Linked DNA regions of Homo sapiens: region 2 is linked to region 1. Evidence: promoter capture Hi-C in human tissues and cell types (Jung and others, 2019). All regions are on one chromosome and are shown on one strand. The core of a region is centred on a gene start or on the middle of the fragment in contact, and the rest is flanking DNA. Distances in the headings are between cores, read along the strand shown. Region 1 holds the start of S1PR2 (sphingosine-1-phosphate receptor 2). Region 2 holds the start of COL5A3 (collagen type V alpha 3 chain).

Region 1 (2,787 bases), core at 159-2,658:
CCCTACAGGGATGCCTGGCACAAATAAAACACTCAGAAAACGTGTGGAATGGGCAAATGAATGAATGAATGAATGAACCAATGAACAAAGGAGACCCTAGTGGGTTCCCAAGGGTGGAAACTCCTAAGCTCAGCCCAGACCCAAACAGCAACAAAGGAGCCTGGAGACACCTCTGGTCCGCGGGCAGCGCCCCCATCGCCCACCATCAACCAGGCAAAGCCCAGCGTGTCTCCATGGAGATGGCAGCAGGACCCGACCCCGTGCTGGCCCGCACTCTCGGCCTCCTTATCTGGTTTAGGAATGCGCGGTATCCACGCTCGCTCGCGCGGGAGCCACGCCTCCTCTCCCCCCCGCCCCCGAGACCGCCACACGCGCGGGGCCCCCACGTCTCCAAGCGGCACTGGAAGGATTCCTCTCCGTCCCGCCAGGGGTCCCGCCTCGAGATTCTGGGAAGACTGGGGGTGGGGGACCAGATCGCAGCAGCAGCTGCACCGCGAGTTCCGCGCCTGGCCGTGTCGCCCCACGAGGGGGACTGTGGGCTCAGCGCGTGGGGCCCGGAGCATCTGACAAGGACAGAGACAGAGGAGGGGGTGGAAATCCCCGGGTGAGTCAACCCGTGCCTGAGAAGGGGGCGAGTTCCGACGCTCCGCCCGGCTCGGGGCCACGCGAGGTCCGCGCCACGCGCGCCTTCACCCACGACCCATCCCTGAGCCGGAGTTGAAAGAGGAGGCGTCTGAGCCACGCAGTCACTTTCTCTTTCCTTACAAAACAAAGCCACGCCCCCCGCCGGGGGACCGGAGGAGGCAAACAACTTGGGGAAACCGAGGCAGAAAGCCCGACGTCCGACCGCCCTCCCCGTGGGTGCCGCCCCTTGGCTTGGAGGCTCCACGGCGCGCACATCCTTTTGCCCTCGCTCAGCCGGAGTCAGCCAGGAGGGGTGTTGCCCCCCCCCAAACACACTCCCCAAGACCCCGGTCCCCGAGCACGGCGTCCTGCCTCCCAAAGACTCCAGTCGAAAGCGCTCGGATTCAGCCTTCTCCCCGGCGCCAACTTCCTGCCGCTGAGAAAGGCGGGGAGCACAGTCTGCGGGTTCGCGGCCGAGGCAGTGGGGGCCGCCCGGATTCTTGGAGAGGGCGCACTGTGACCACCCGCTCCGTGCAGCAGGAACCCAGGCGGCGCGTGCGCGCCCCAGCCCCCCGATTGGGGCCCCTCAGCTCGGATCCCGAGACCTCAGGGGACCAGGCCCGCCTTTTCTGCCTCCTTGTCGCCACGCGCGCTCACCTGGCTAGGCCGGCCCGGCTCCCGGCCCTGGCCGGAGGGGCCTTGGCGTCTGCGTCCCCAGGGCGGCCGCGGCTGGGGCTGGGGTTGCCAGCCGGGCTCGGCTAAGTCCCGGGGCTGGGACGAGGGACAGAGGGGGGGGCGGAGAGCCGCCGCCTCTGCCCCCCGCTCGCCCCGCCCTCCTCTCCTCCCCTTTCCGGCGGCGGCTGCAATGAATTCCAGATGTGACCGGCCGGCTGGCCGGGGCGCACGCGGGGGCCGACAGGAGCTGCACGGAGGGCCCTTTGTCCGCCCCCCCCACCCGATCTCTCACTCTGCCCCTCCCAGCCCCCACCCGTGAGAACCGGCCGGCGCGAAACGTCACGCAGCCTGGTGACGTCACAGTACTCCTGGCCAGGTGGCCTCAACCTGAAACAACTGTCTTCAACCCCAGGTTACCTCTGGGCTTACCCCTGGGACCCTGGACTTGGAAGAAAACACGAGGTCACATTTATTGACTCAACAAAGAGCCTTGGAAGTACCTACTAGGTGTCAACGCAGCAAATAGGCATTAAGTGCCTACTGTGTGTCCACCCAACAAATAAATTCCTACTAAGTGCGATGTCCTGTCCCAAAGACAAAATTGATCTCTTTTTTTTTTTCTTTTTTTGAGACATGGTCTTGCTCTGTCATCCAGGCCAGAGTGTGGTGGCTCAATCATAGCTCACGGGAGCCTCAGCCTCCTGCCTCAGCCTCCAGAGTAGCTGGGACTACAGGTGCGCCATCATGCCTGGCTAATTTTTTGCAGTTTTTTGTAGAGATGGGGTCTCGCTGTGTTGCCCAGGCTGGTCTTGAACTGCTGCATTCAAGCAATCCTACTGCCTCAGCCTCCCAAAGTGCTGGAATGACAGGCGTGAGCCACTGTGCCTGACCAGTCTCTCCCTTGATAGGACCTCCAGAATTCAGGTGCTGCCCTGTTTCCCTTGGGGGACTGGGGACACTCCACACTCTTTCCTGCCTCTGTAGATCACTGTCCCCTCTGGCGGGGCCCAGTTTGTGCCTGCCTTCCAGCGTCGGGCCCAGTCTTCTATCCAGATTTCCAATTTTCACTAATTCCTGGGCATTTCTGTGTGCCTGCCTGCGGAAATGATGGACACTACACCTTCATCGAATGATGTGTGTGTGTGTGTGTGTGTGTGTGTGTGTGTGTGTGTGTGTAACCAGCAGTTCGACAACAGGATAGGAAAGCCCCTCATTCCAGCAACAAAATTTTTTTGTTTGAGACAGAGTCTTCCTTTATCTCCCAGGCTGGGGTGCAGTGGTGCCATCTCAGCTCACTGCAACCTCTGCCTCCCAGGTTCAAGCTATTCCTGTGCCTCAGCTTCACAAGTAGCTGGAAATACAGGCGCGTGCCACCACGCCTGGCTGATTTTTTTGTATTTTTAGTAAAGACAGGGTTTCACCATGTTGGCCAGGCTGGTCTCGAACTCGTGACCTCAAGTGATCCGCCTGCCTCGGCCTCCCCAAGTG
Region 2 (2,703 bases), core at 183-2,682, 220 kb before region 1:
GTGTGAGCGTGGGAATGCGGCATAGTCCAATCAGGGATTAACCATATGGACAGGCACCTTCCTGGACTCCAAAGTAAGAAGTGTGCTGTGGTGTGTGTGTGTGTGTGTGTGTGTGTGTGTGTGTGTGTGTGTGTTGGGAGACTGAGCTCACCTTAGAAAGGGATTTCCAGGAGGACCTAGTCTAGGGTCTCTCAGATCAGGGAAGCCCCATCTCCAACACTTGAGAAGCTACGCCATCCCCTGACTCCCGAAGCGCCCCCCACTCTGAACCCTGAGGGGCGGGACAGGGCGCCCAGCCAGATGCGCGCAGCTGGGCGTGCGTCAGCGCTGACTCACCCATCCGGCGGCCCCCGGGACCCCTTGGGGGCTCCTGAGAAATTCCTCGGGAAAAACACCCAAGGCTCCAGCAGCTGGGGTGGGGAGGGGGGGAGCAACTTCCACTCCTGCCCCGCCCTGCGCCCCGCCCCGTCTCGCCCCTCACCGCGGCCCTCCCCGAAGCCCTGTCCATGGTGCTGATCGCGGCTCTGGGGACCGCGGGGTGGGGGAGGGGGCAACAGGGAGGGAGGGGAGGAGATGGGCGCTCGCCAATTTGGGGCAGAGGAGGAAAAGGGAGAATGAGGTGAAGCCATTTAAAGAGACGCAAAGGAAACTGTGGGTTCCCGAAGAGCACCCCCCAATACTTGTCCCCACCCACCTTCATCCTCATGGGCAATTATTTGCACCCAAAAATCATAACTACACCCCTCATAGCGGCACTCAGAGACACACAATCACACGCATAACCACTCACACGGTTACCCTCGAAAATCAGCACATAGACAAGAGCACAAGTGCATACTCACCTGTCGCAATACACACCGTCCCAGCACTGCCCTGTCACTCACAGTCACACTATCACCATCAACCTCCACACGCAAGCACATACGCAACTTCACTCCAAATGCACACACATGCTACACACACATACACACATGCACACACCTGCACATTGCATGCATTCCCACGCGCTCGCCAGAAAACGCACTCACACATCCCCACCCCCACCCCGAGCTGTCACACCCACAAATCACCCAGAGTCAGATACTCATGCGCCCACATCACACCGGGGCCGCACGCGGCGCCCACGCCCTTCCCCTCCACGCCCCTCCACCCCCCTCCACCCCTCGCTCTTTTAGAGCCTCTCTGAGTCGTGGACCCTGGGTCCCATCTCTTCCCTCCCGGCTCACCGGCCTGCGTCCCCGGCAGAAGCTGCAGCGCGGCCAGGAGCAGGCAGAGACCGGCCCGCGGCTGGCCCAGGTCCCGGCGGTTCCCCATCCCGGCGGGGCCCACGGGCAAGGCGGGGAACCAGTCGGGGCGGCTGCGGGGCGCGGCGACTTCTCGGGCTCGGTGCAGTCACTCGCGGCGGCCGCTCCTCTCAGGGTCCGCGGGAAACTGCCCGAGACCCCGCCCTGGCCTCGCCCTGCGCTCCAGCGCCTGGCCAGGCGGGGCTTTTTGGAGGGGGAGCGCTGACAGCTGGACTGGGAAGTTGGGAAACTTTGTGCTGAGGGCTGATTGGCTGGCTGGGGTGGAGCCCAGCGCCAGGAGCTGGGTTGTTCCTGCCCCACCCCACTGTGGAGGAGAAGGGTCACTCCCACCCAGCCCTAGAGTTCGAGGGTTCCAGTCTTACCCCAAACCTTTTCCGCCTAGCAGATCCCCTCAAAGGAGACCTTAACCTCATTCAAGACTTCAGCCTCCATCCAGGCCCTAGAATTAGGAGGAGGTGCAGCTTTATACCAAATCTTTTTTATTTTCTATTATTTTTACATTTTATTTTGGAGACAGGGTCTTGATCTGTCACCCAAGCTGGAGTGCAGTGGTGCAATCATAGCTCACTGCAGCCTCCAACTCCTGCGTTCAAGCCATCCACCTGCCTCAGCCTCCTGAGAAGCAGGTACCACAGGCACACACTGCCACACCCAGCTAATTTTAAAATATGTATATTTTGTAGAGACCGGGATCTTGCTATGCTGCCCAGGCCGGTCTTGAACTTCTGGTCTCAAGCGATCCTCCGGCCTTGCCCTCCCAAAGCGCTGGAGTTACAGGCATGAGCCACCGCCCCTGGCACCAAGTCCTTTCTGCCTCACTCAGGCCCCCAACTGGGGTCCCAACCTCACCCCGAACTCTCACTCACCTACCTGCTTTATCCTCAGTCCCTCAGCTGCACAATAGGAGGTACCAGCCTCAGCCCCAAAGCCTTTCCTTCAAGTCCCTAACGGGTCCTCATCCCACCTCAAATCTCACCCCAGATCCCAAAATGGGGTCCCCAGCCTTACTCCAAACCTTCATCTGTCCACTCAAATCCCTAAGTCACGTGTCCTGGTCCCAAATTCTCACCACAGATCCCAAAACACAGTTTTCACTTTCCCCAAATTCTTGATTCCTCAAATAAAGGGTCTCATCTCCATCCCTAACCCTCATCTCCCCCCGCCCCAACTCAGGTCTCCAGTGGATGCCCCGGCCTCAATCCCAAATCCCCACCAAATGAGGGAGTCTGAGCTGGGTGCGGTGGCTCATGCCTGTAATCCCAGCATTTTGAGAGGCTGGGGCGGGCAGATCGCTTGAGTCCAGGAGTTAGAGATCAGCTGGCCAACATGGCGAAACCCCATCTCTACTAAAAATACAAAAATTAGCCAGGCATTGTGACTGGCGCCTGTAGTCCCAGCT

Evidence for each region. The method cuts DNA at HindIII sites, captures the fragments that hold promoters and counts their contacts. A contact is called where the count stands out against the background at its distance.
Region 2: the fragment with the promoter of COL5A3 here is called in contact with the fragment with the promoter of S1PR2 in region 1 in 1 of the 25 tissues and cell types used here (dorsolateral prefrontal cortex).

Annotation. Positions count from the first base shown.
Region 1 is chr19:10,229,923-10,232,709 of GRCh38, forward strand. It overlaps S1PR2 (sphingosine-1-phosphate receptor 2), which reads right to left and starts at 1,409. Exons shown (of 2, transcript NM_004230.4): 1 at 1,282-1,409. It overlaps MIR4322 (microRNA 4322), which reads left to right and starts at 491; the gene lies at 491-563. RefSeq lists enhancers at 34-113, 53-767, 1,914-1,963 and silencers at 294-343, 1,054-1,713. The HindIII fragment of the contact is 35,191 bases long and covers 1-2,787 here.
Region 2 is chr19:10,009,072-10,011,774 of GRCh38, forward strand. It overlaps COL5A3 (collagen type V alpha 3 chain), which reads right to left and starts at 1,433. Exons shown (of 67, transcript NM_015719.4): 1 at 1,227-1,433. The coding sequence starts at 1,314. The HindIII fragment of the contact is 11,359 bases long and covers 1-2,703 here.